Regions from separate parts of the Homo sapiens genome. Here region 1 is linked to region 2. Evidence: promoter capture Hi-C in human tissues and cell types (Jung and others, 2019). All regions are on one chromosome and are shown on one strand. Each heading gives the region's core, a stretch centred on a gene start or on the middle of the fragment in contact. The rest is flanking DNA. Distances are from core to core; before and after follow the strand shown. Region 1 holds the start of ZNF12 (zinc finger protein 12). Region 2 has its middle 23 kb from the start of CCZ1B.

Region 1 (6,040 bases), core at 2,059-4,558, 140 kb before region 2:
AAGAAATGCTAAGCAGGTGGCTGGACAGTTCTATGTGGGAAAACCAACACAGAGCTGGTAGTTAGAAGCACAGGAGGGTGACATCAGATAGGTACAGAGTCGTGAGCCAAGAGTGGACACCAACACATGAAGACCAAAGAAATCATCAATTTCAGGAAGCAGGCAAGAAGAGAAAGGGCACTCAAACTGACAGAGCAAACTGCAGAGTGGGCCAAGGCAAAGATGCAAATGTCCACTAAGAGCATGTGCTGGATTATTGGCAACCTTTTCCAACAAGGTCAGGGGAGTGGTAGGGACAGGACCAAGACCACAGGCTATGGGATAAAATGGGCATCTATGCCAGAGATTTATTATGGTCCTTTCTGCTGTGCAACCCAGATAAACTAAGAGAAATATTTAGGGAGGCGGCTTGGCATGGTGGCTCACACCTATAATCCCAGCACTTTGGGAGGTCAAGGTGGGCAAATCACTTGGCACTTGAGGTCAGGAGTTCGAGACCAGCTTGGCCCAAGTGCTTCTGAAACCCCGTCTCTACTAAAAAAATACAAAAATGAGCTGGGTGTGGTGGCAGGTGCCTGTAATCGCAGCTACTCGGGAGGCTAAGGCAGGAGAATCGCTTGAATCAGGGATAGCGCCACTGCACTCCAGCCTGGGCAACAGAGTGAGACTCCATCTTTAAAAAAAAAAAAGAAAAGAAAATATTTAGGGAGACTAATTTAAGGGTGAGAAGGCCATTTCTGCAACGGATAGAGCAGTAAAAAGAATCTACCTTTGAGACAACAATGTTTTAGTTACTAGAAATATTATGGGCTGGGCGCAGTGGCTCATGCCTGTAAGCTCAGCACTTTGGGAGGCCGAGGCGGGTGGATCACCTGAGCTCAGGAGTTCGAGAGCAGCCTGGCCAACATGGTGAAACCCTGTCTCTACTTTAAAAAAAAAAAAAAAAAAAAAAAAGGCCGGGTGTGGTGGCAGATGCCTGTAATCCCAGCTACTCCAGAGGCTGAGGCAGGAGAATCACTTGAACCTGGGAGGTGGAGGTTGCACTGAGCTGAGATAGCGCCACTGCACTCCAGCCTGGTGACAGAGCGCAATACTTGGTCTCAAAAAAAAAAAAAAAAAAAAAAAAAAAAAAAGAAAGGCAAGAATTGCAATGGTTCAAGGGTTATTATTTAGGAAAGCTGTTGATAATGATCTCAGAGGAATCTTTAAAATTCATGCAAAAACAAAAGTGATTCTGCTTACGGTCAATGTAAGTCAAGGAATGGATGGTATTTATCATTTTTTGTGATAAATGCCAAGAACATAAGACGCTTGTACTCTGACTTCAAGAACTCTTTAAGGATCACGCTATCTGCGCATATGAATATGATAAAAAGGCTTGGTGCTGATGGCTACTGTTCTGTCTGACCAAATCTTGTATCTATTTCTACTTTCCCATTTTAAACTTTGAACCCTTAATCTCCTCCTAAGGTGTATTGTAAATCAGAGTAGAGAATAAATACATGAACAGAAACACTCACCAGGGATTTATTCATTTTCTGCTGCTCTTGGAAAAATCTGGAGGACTGTGAAAGCGGAGGCAGATCTGGGGAAGGAAAACCCAAGCCATGGCGTTATGAGCGGTCTGGCCTGCCAAGGCGGTCATCTCCCGCCCAAAACCTACACAGAAAGTTCCAAGAAGTACATCTTGTGGGAGACTGTCCCTTTAAGCCTTCAGAAGGGATTGGAAAATGATCAGGAGGGGGACCGATCTGCACATTTGAAACTCACACATGGCTACCTTGTGACTGAGTGGATGAGATTCTCATGGTGAATGAATACTGGATCCTACTGAAATAATCTGCCATCATTAAATGCAAGATTTAAAAAGGAATTCTGGTGACCAGCCTGGCCAACATGGTGAAACCCCATGTCTAGTAAAAATACAAAAATTAGCTGGGCGTGGTGGCGGGCGCCTGTAACCCCAGCTACTCGGGAGGCTGAGGCAGGAGAATCGCTTGAACCCGGGAGGCGGAGGTTGCAGTGAGCTGGGATGGCACCATTGCACTCCAGCCTGGGCAACAAAGCGAAACTTGTCTCAAAAACAAACAAACAAACAAACAAAAAACAAACAACAAAAAATGAATTCTGTAATACTCATCTATTTTCTTACTCTTTTAAATAAAGATCAGAAAATCCACAGGATGCCCTAAATAAAGGAATACAGTCGGCATAATTGAGTCTTTATTTGCAGAAACTTCAGTGTGCTACTCAAAAGGATCTTTTATTGAAGAACTTACGCTCACTTAACTAGGATACGGGGGACAGAACACTGGCCTGGGAGATAAAACTCCAGAGTTCTACTATGAGCAACTCCACCCACAAAACCTCGGACAAGTCACCCACCTGCTAAGGCCCTTCCCCTAGCAAATGAGGCAGCAAGAGATAGTTCCTGCAGGCTGTTCCTGCACTACAACGTATGATTCCACAAGAGCAGACCTAAGGGGGAATCAGCACTTAAATGAGAGAACAGAGGTGCTGACGGACGTTTAGATACGGTAGCAATCTGGAGCAGAGAGAGGAGGAAGGGCTGCTGGGGTGAGGGGGGAGTGGAGACAACGTCCGCAGCTGAGGCTGGTGACACCCCCCACGCCCCCGTAAGCCTCGTCCTCGCCGGACCCTGCCTTCAAACCCAAACACACGTCACTCCTGCAAGCGATCGAGACCTTCCACTGTCCCTCACTCTAAGGTGCCCTACACGCGGTGACTTCACCCAGGCCCTTCTCGCCCCGGGCCCGCAAACCCACGACTTACCCTCCTGGGGCTCCGCAGCCTCTGCCCCACCGCTCCCGACAGGCCGGGGCGGGATTGCTGTCGCGGGCGCGCGTCTGCTCGCGAGGTCCCTTCCTGTCCACCTCACCAAGGCCGTTCTGCTCCAGAGGGGCCCGGGCCGGGCCTACGGGACAAATCCAGGCGGGGCGTCCCTCCCGGAGCCCAGATCCGTCTCCCTGGGGCTCACCGTCCTGCGGAGCCGGGGCCGGGCCGTCGAGGACGCACACGGGCCGGGCCCGGGTCCCGCCGCCCCTTCGCCTCCGCCGTCGTCACCGCCCGGCCGGCCCCTTGGGCCCCAGCGCCGTCGGCTCCGGGGGTCGTGCTCGGGGATCCCCGCTTGAGCCTCCGCCTGGCCCGCACAGCCCCGCGCCCGCTTGGGTGCCGGCCCGGCTCTTCGGCGCCCAGCCCCGCAGGCTCCGCGATTCTCGCCCACCGGAGGCCAAAGCCTGGGAACTAGGGCGAGCGGTGACCTGGGGACGCACAGGAAGCGAGGGCACTGCGGCCGCGGCGCGCATGCGCGAACACGCACACAGAGAGGGGTGCACATGCGCAGGAATGCACCGGAAGTCCGCCTCCCGGGACCCGCCGCCGGTCCCAGGACAAATACCGTGACTCTATTTCCCATGAGCCTACGCGCTCCCCAAATTTAGGAGCCATTTGAAATGTCTCTATCTGGTCTAGCGGTTAAGAGGCTCTATGCTAAGAGAATTGGCAACGCCGAACCCCAGACTCAAATTTCTCCTTAGTTTAAGGGAACGTCTTCATGGGGATGTCTTGACTATCTTTAAGGGAACGTCTAGAAAGTCTCTGCTTCCTGTAGCATCTCGTAGACCATGCCTGGGCCAGTCCTGCCTTACCGGAGAGCTCAAGGCTTAAAATCAATGTCCATGTGCAACCGTGACAAATGGAACAAGAGGGTGCATCATGCTAGCTTATGATCACAATGACACATTTAACGAAAACTTCAGTAAATAGAGCCCATGGATGAAATAATAGAGGATTAGCCTGGGACAGGATACCATCCTCGCCCCAACAAGGAGAAAAAGAATTCCAGCTTTTCCAAATCACTTTGAATTAGTGATAGCTAGAAAACTCAGAGAATATGTACAGAATTGAAAGAAGAAAAAAATTAGCCAGAACTCTACTTCCTGAAGAGGATGAGGCAAGCAGAAGAAGAAATTTGCGTCTTAATGGAAAACGAAGCACATTTAGAAAGCCATGTTACTTGATTCCAACCCTGTTCCTTATCTTTGAGGTATTTTACACCTCTTTGAAAACTGTAGGTAATCGATGCAAGTTATGTTCTGTCTGGTGGAAGTTGGTTGACTTCCCACAATCCCCACTAGAGAAAATGCAGTTTTGACTGCATTTCTCCATTTACATAATCATTTCAATATTCCTGATCTGAAAATATGTCTGTTTCTCAGATTCTCTCTCTCTCTCTCTTTTTTTTTTTAATTTTGAGACAGGGTCTCACTCTGCTGTGCATGCTGGAGTTCAGTGGCGAGATCTTGGCTCACTGGTTCAAGGAATTCTCCTGCCTCAGCCTCCCAAGTAACTGGGATTACAGGTGCACACCACCAAGCCCGACTAATTTTTGAATTTTTAGTAGAGATGGGGGTTTCACCATGTTGGCCAGGCTGGTCTTAAACTCCTGACCTCAAGTGATCCACCCGCCTCAGCCTCCCAAAGTGCTGGGATTACAGGCATGAGCCACCATGTCCAGCCCTCAGATTCTCTTTTGAACCAGTTATAATATCTGCCTGTTTCCTCTTGAATTAAATAAAATCTTTAGCATGTGCTCATTTTTATATCTGTATCAGAGTCATGATTTTACTTTTATGTTTTAAGGTTTTCCAGGTCTTTGCAGAAGTCCCTGATGGAATCACATGACTGAGCCAGGAAAACCTCAGGACTGGAGTGCCTCATGAACTGTTGAAGCCCAGGTGAATCTTTTCTTGGCTCCCAGGAATGAGTCCAAAGTGCCAGTAGAAATTTGCTGGCTTCTCATTTTTCAGTAATTTCCCCATTTACCAATCCTGTGTTTTACTTTGGTTTGCATTTGTTTACATTGCTAGCATCACTGATTGGGACTTTGTTTGTTTTTGTTGTTTCAAGGCAAAGTCTCACTCTGCCGCCCAGGCTGGAGTGCAGGGGTACGATCTCGGCTCACTGCAACTTCTGCCTCCCAAGTTCAAGTGATTCTCCTGCCTCAACCTCCTGAGTAGCTGGGACTATAGGTGCATGCCACCATGCCCGACTAATTTTTGTATTTTTAGTAGAGACGGGGTTTTTCCATGTTGGCCAGACTGGTCTCGAACTCCTGACCTCAGGTGGTAGACTCGCCTCAGCTTCCCAAAGTGGTGGGATTACAGGCGTGAAGCACCGCGCTGGGCTAGGAATTTGGTTTTATGGTCTGATCACATGGTGATCTCTGTAATGAGATTAATGTTTGCAAAGACCTAATCTCTGTTGGGTGAGAGACATCAGAGTCTGATTTGTTATTCTATTTCTCTGTCTATTTTGAGCTGAAATCAATTAAGAATTTCATGCCCACTGGGAGGAGAAGAGCTCTTTCATATCTGGAAGGGTGAGTTTTTGCATTTTTGTGTTTACTCTTGACCCATGTCTGAAATTTTAGAATTGAAGCTGTAAGCTCTATTTCTTTGTATGTCTGTGTGTCTGTAATTTAGAAAGGTCTTTACCTCTGATTGTGTGAGTGTCTAATGTTTTTCCACCTCTGAATGGTATTATAGTAGATATAGAGTTTGTTTGTTTGTTTTTGAGACAGGGTCTCACTCTGTCGTCCAGGCTGAAGTGCAGTGTGTGCGATCACGGATCACTGCAGCTTCAACCTACCTGGGCTCAGGTGTTCCTCCCACCTCAGCCTCCCAATTAGCTGGGACTGCAGGTGTGTACCACCATACCCAACTAATTTTCGTATTCTCTATAGAGATGGGGTTTTGCCATGTTGCCCAGGATGGTCTCGAACTTCTGGGCTCAAGCGATCTGATCACCTCAGCCTCCCAAAGTGCTGGGATTACAGGCATGAGCCACAATATAGAGTCTTTAAAGGTTTGCTGTTCTGATTGGCTTGTAGAGGTGTGTATGTACTTATATAAATTGAATTTGCCCAAATTCTTAGAAAAAAAGAGAAATTGAACTTCTGTTGCTTTAATGTGCTAGAAAGGTATTTTTTACTGAAACCAAATCAAATGTTTTGGAAATG
Region 2 (5,484 bases), core at 131-2,630:
GCGTGAAGCCCTCTCCGCCTTTTGCCTTTCATCTCTCTTAAAGAGGAACATGAGCAACCGGTGGCGATCGGCCCAGGTGGGGTTGTGGGTCTGGATAACCGTTTGGAGGAAATCAATTAGGGCTTGTGGCTTTTCGCTCTAGGACGGGGTATTGTTTTCCCAGTTGAGAAGGTCGGCAGAGGTGAAGGGCTGGTACACAAAAACACGCCTCTCCACCACGTGACCATCCTCCTCTCTCCCAGTATGCCGCTGCTCTCTCAGGGGCATTTGGATCCCCGTTTTGGGTCGTAAAAGAGCTGCCGAGGGAGGGGTGGAATGGCGCAATGTTACTTACCGCAATTAATAATCTTAATTATTAATTGATACTGATAATTATCAATATTAATAACTGATCATATAATTCTGAAAATCAATACCGATAATGATAATTCGTATTAAAGAGTTATACTCACGATAACAATAAATGAATATTAATGATTAATGATGCATGGTCTTAAAGAGTGATATTGATCTTATTCATTAGAAAACTGTCATATTAGCTCCTAATAATTAACATTAATATTAATAATCTGAACACTATTTTTAACAATGATTTCTTAATATTAATATTAATATTGGTAATACATATTCATGTTAATAAAAGAGGAAGAATTAATATGAATATTATCCCTAATACCTCAGTGGGTGTACACCCACCTGTGATGTTGTTCCTAATGTCCAGGGAGGGAGAGAGCATGATATGACGTTCAATATCGCAGTAGGTGTACACCCACCCGGTGATATTGATCCGAATATCATCTCCAGGGGGTGGCGTATGACGTTACTCCCAAGATAGCAGTGGGTGTGCATCCACCCGGTGATATTCCTCCTAATATTCCCGGAAGAAGAGAATGCTATTACTCCCAGTATCTCAGGAAGTGTACACCCCTTCTGTGACATTGTTCCTAATATCCGGAGGGGGAGAGGGTGATATTACTCGCAATATCGCAGGCTGTGTGCACCCACCCTCTGATATTGTTCCTAGCAGCCAGGAAGTGAGAGGACGATATGACTCCCCATACAGCAGGAGGTGTACACCCATCCTGGGATATTATTCCTAATATCCACGGAAAGGAGAGGCTGATATGACTCCCAATATCGCAGGGGGTGTACATCCAGTCTGTGATATTGTTCTTAATATTCAAAGGTGGAGAGGTTGATATTACTCCCAATATCACAGAAAGTGTACAAGCCCGTGTACTATTGTTGCTATTATACAGAAGAAGAGAAGATGATATCACCCCCTCATCGCAGGAGGTGTACACCCACTCTGTGATATTTTTTCCAATGTGCAGGGCAGGGGAGGATAATACTCTTCTTCATAGCACAGGGTGTGTACAGCCCCACCGTGATATGATCCTTAATATTCCAAGGCGGAGAGGATGATCTTACTCCCAATACCGCAGAAAGTGTACACAACCCCAGTGATATGGTTCCCATGATCCAGGAGAGAAGAGGATGATGTTACTTTCAATATCGCACGGGGTGGACACGCTCCGGTGATATTGTTCCTAATTTCAACGTGGGAGAGGATGATACTACACGGAATGCCCCTAGGGATAAAAACACTCCTGTGATATTGTTCTTAATATCAAGGGGAAAGAGGATGCTATTACTCCAAAGAGCGCAGAGGATGTGCACCCGTCTGTGATATAGTTGGTAATTTCCAGAGGTGGAGAAGATATTACTGACAATAACGTGAACACGCTGTGTGACCACCGTGGATCGTCATATCCAGGGGGGGAGAGGGGGTGCTGATATGACTCCCCGCATCGCGGGGGGCGCCCGCCCCCCTGCGACGTGAATCATCATATCTAGAGGGGGGTGATATGACTGCCCGCATCGCGGGGGCCTCATCCCCTTGCGATGGGGGTCCTAAGAGCCAGGGGGTGATAGGGGCTGGCTCTTACTCCCCGTACCCCAGGGTGGGGCCTTACCCCCCTGCAAAGGGGCTCCTAAGAGCCAGGGGGAGAGAGGGGCTGGCTCTTACTCCCCGTATCGCAGGAGGTGGGTACAACCCCTGCGATATTGGGAGTAATGTCATCCTCTCCGCATGAATATAAGAAACAGTATCACAGGAGGATGTACACCCCCTGCGATATTGGAAGTAACAACATTTTCTCCCCCTCCGGATATTCGGAACAATATCACAGTGGGTGTGTACAGCCCCTGCGACATTGCCGCTAGTATCTTCCTCTCCCTCCCAGGATAGAAGGAACAATGTCACAAGGGGGTGTACACTCCCTGCGATATTGGCTGTAATATCTTCCTCTCCCCCGCTGCCCTTTAGGAGCAATGTTACACAAGGGGTGTACACCCCCGGCTATATTGGGAGTGATATCATCCTCTCCGTCCCTTTATATTAGGAACAATATCCCTAGGGAGTGTACACATTCTGCAATATTCAGACTAATAGCATCCTCTCGCCGCCTGGATATTAGGATCAATATCACAAGGATGGTGTGCACCCCCGGTGAAATTGGAAGAAATATCATCATCTCCACCTTTGGATGTTAGGGACAGTATCTCGGTGGAGGTCTCCACCCCCTGCGATATTGGGAGTCATATCCGCTCCCACCCAGGATATTAGGAACAAGATGACCGAAGGGATGTACACCCACTGCGCTATTTTCAATAATGTCATCCTCTACCCCCCGGCTATTAGGAGTAACATCATAGAGGGGTGTACACTTTCTGCGATATAGGGAGTCATATCCTCTCCCCCACGGATATCGGGAACAGTTCTATTAATTATTAATATTAATAAATATAATAACAATTAATAGTAATCATCAATATTAATAATTACAGTAGAGACAGTAAAACAGTACAGATGAAAAATATTAACGGTTACTATTAATAATTAATAGCAATATCACTATTAATAATAAAATAATGATATCACTAATTAATGTTACTTCAATCAATCATAAGTGATGTTGGTAATAAAACAATAATTAATATTAAGATTAATAACTAATATTAAAAGTGACATTAATCTTAATAATTAATTTTAATCATGCATAATCATATCTTGAAAATAATCATTAATGATTAATAACGTTATACTGTTAATTAATATTACCATTGATAATTATTAATAAGACTGATGTTTAATAATTCAGAATATTATTACTGCTAATACCACAGGGGGTGTACACCTACCTGTGATATTGTTCCTAATATCCAGGGATGGAGAGCATGATATTAGTTTTCATATCGCAGTAGGTGTACACTCACCCTGTGACACCGATCCTAATACCCAGAGGGTAGAGTATGACATGACTGCCAACACAGTAATCAATGTACAGCCACCCGGTGATATCGCTCCTAATATTCACGGAAGAAGCGTATGATATTACTCCCAATATCGCAGGGAGTGTACACCTCTTCTGTGATGTTCTTCCTAGTATCCCGAGGGGGAGAGGGTGATAATAATTCCAGCATCGCAGGCTGTGTTCACCCAGCCTGTGAAATTGTTATTAATATCCTGAAAGGGAGAGGATGATATTACTCCCCATAATAGATAGATATGACTCCCCATAATAGAGCAGGAGGTGTACACCCACCCTGTGATATTCTTCCTAATATTCGGAGACCGAGAGGTTGATATTACTCCCAATATCGCAGGAAGTATACACCCCCATGTGAGATGGTCCTTCATAATATTCTAAGGCGGAGGGGGTGATATGACTACATATATGGCAGAAAGTGGACACCCCCCAGGGATATTGTTCCCATGATCCTGGAGGGAAGAGGATGATATTACTTTCAATATCACAGAAGGTGGACACGCCCCCACTGATATTGTTTCTAATTGCAACGTGGGAGAGGAGGATATGACACGCGATATCCGAGGGAGTGGAAACACCCCTGTGATACTCTTCTTAATATTCAGGGAGGAAGAGGATGATATTACTCCCAATACAGATGGGTGTACACCCTCTGCACACCGAGGGTGTACACCCGTCTCTGAAACAGTTCATAATCTCCAGAGGGGGAGATGATATTGCTCACAATATGGTAAACAGGCTGTGAGTCCACCGCGGATCCTAAAAACCAGGAGGGGGGAAGAGGGGCTGGCCCTTACTCCCCGCATCGCGGTGGGCACCTCACCCCCCTGCGATGGGGGTCCTAAGAGCCGAGGGGGAGAGGGGCTGTTCCCTACATTGGGGCACTGAGGTCCCTGTTTTCTTGCAAGCTGCCATCGGGGACCACTCTCGGCTTCCAGGGGCCTCCTTGTAGGTGGCACCATGGCCACTTGCCCTACTCCAAGCCTGCAGAAGAGCACCTCTCTGCCATGTCCCTTTCTTTTAAAAGACTTGCCTGACTGGTTCAGGTCCATTAGGTAGCGTCCCACTTGATTAGCTCAAAAGTACTGTAGCCCATCACATTCACTCACAGGAGGGCATTAGCGGGGTGTGGACACCAGGGAGTGAGAATCTCTCAGGCCAGTTTAGCATTCAGTTGGTTAGCGAGGTTCAGTGGCTCACGCCTGTACTCCCAGCACTTTGGGAGGCTGAGGCGGGCAGATCACCTGAGGCCAGGAGTTCGAGACCAGCCTGGCCAATATGGTGAAACCCAGTCTCTACTAAAAATACAAAAATTAGCCAGGCTTGGTGGTGGGCGCCTGTAATCTCAGCTACTTGGAAGCCTGAGGCAGGAGAATCGCTTGAACCCGGGAGGTGGAGGTTGCAGTGAGCCGAGATCGTGCCATTGCACTCCAGCCTGGGCGATACAGCGAGTCTCAAAAATAAATAAATGCGAAGGCTGCCGAGCGCAGTGGCTCATGCTTATAATCCTGGCACTTTGGGAGGCCGAGGCAGGAAGACTGCTTAAGGCCAGGAGTTTCAGCCTAGCATGGACAACACAGTGCAACTCTATCTCTAAGTAAAATAAAATAAAATAAAATAAAATAAAATAAAATAAAATAAAATAAAATAAAATAAGTAAAATAAGAATTCAGTTGGTTAAAAGAAACTCACTAGGTCCAGCCCACAATCAAGGGATGGAAATTACACAAAGTTGTGAAGAGTCAAGGGTGGGAGATCGCTGGCAGCCCTTATAGAAGCTGCCTATCTCACATACCTGTTGGACAGCTTCTCTCTCCTAGCTGGGGGTATTTGGAGCGGGTGTCGAATCCTGCTCTTTTGTATGTCTGTTGCCTTTTCTCGCGGTGATGTGTTTCCTTTGCGTTCTGTAATTTTGGATCATGAGCTGAGCTTCAGAGGGGCTTTATGTGGGGAATCCTGGGTGGCCAGGTTTGAGGGAGCCACCTAGAGAGGTTTTCTATTTGGCTTTTCCAGGGGCCCCAGGGTACCAGTAAGCGAAGGCACCTGTTTTTTTTTTGAGACAGAGTTTCACTCTTGTTGCCCAGGCTGGAGTGCAGTGGCGCAATCTCAACTCACTGCAACTTCTGCCTCCCAGGTTCAAGCTATTCTCCTG

Evidence for each region. Contacts are between HindIII fragments. The study calls those that stand out against the background at their distance.
Region 1: the fragment with the promoter of ZNF12 here is called in contact with a fragment that was not itself captured in region 2 in 1 of the 25 tissues and cell types used here (neural progenitor cells).

The regions. Positions count from the first base shown.
Region 1 is chr7:6,703,639-6,709,678 of GRCh38, forward strand. ZNF12 (zinc finger protein 12) reads right to left here and starts at 3,309. Exons shown (of 5, transcript NM_016265.4): 1 at 2,794-3,309; 2 at 1,521-1,585. The coding sequence starts at 1,535. RefSeq lists a silencer at 2,925-3,284 and an enhancer at 2,978-3,477. The HindIII fragment of the contact is 19,528 bases long and covers 1-6,040 here.
Region 2 is chr7:6,846,143-6,851,626 of GRCh38, forward strand. No RefSeq gene overlaps it. Among named protein-coding and RNA genes, the nearest start is that of CCZ1B, 23 kb to the left of the region's middle. The HindIII fragment of the contact is 8,245 bases long and covers 1-5,484 here.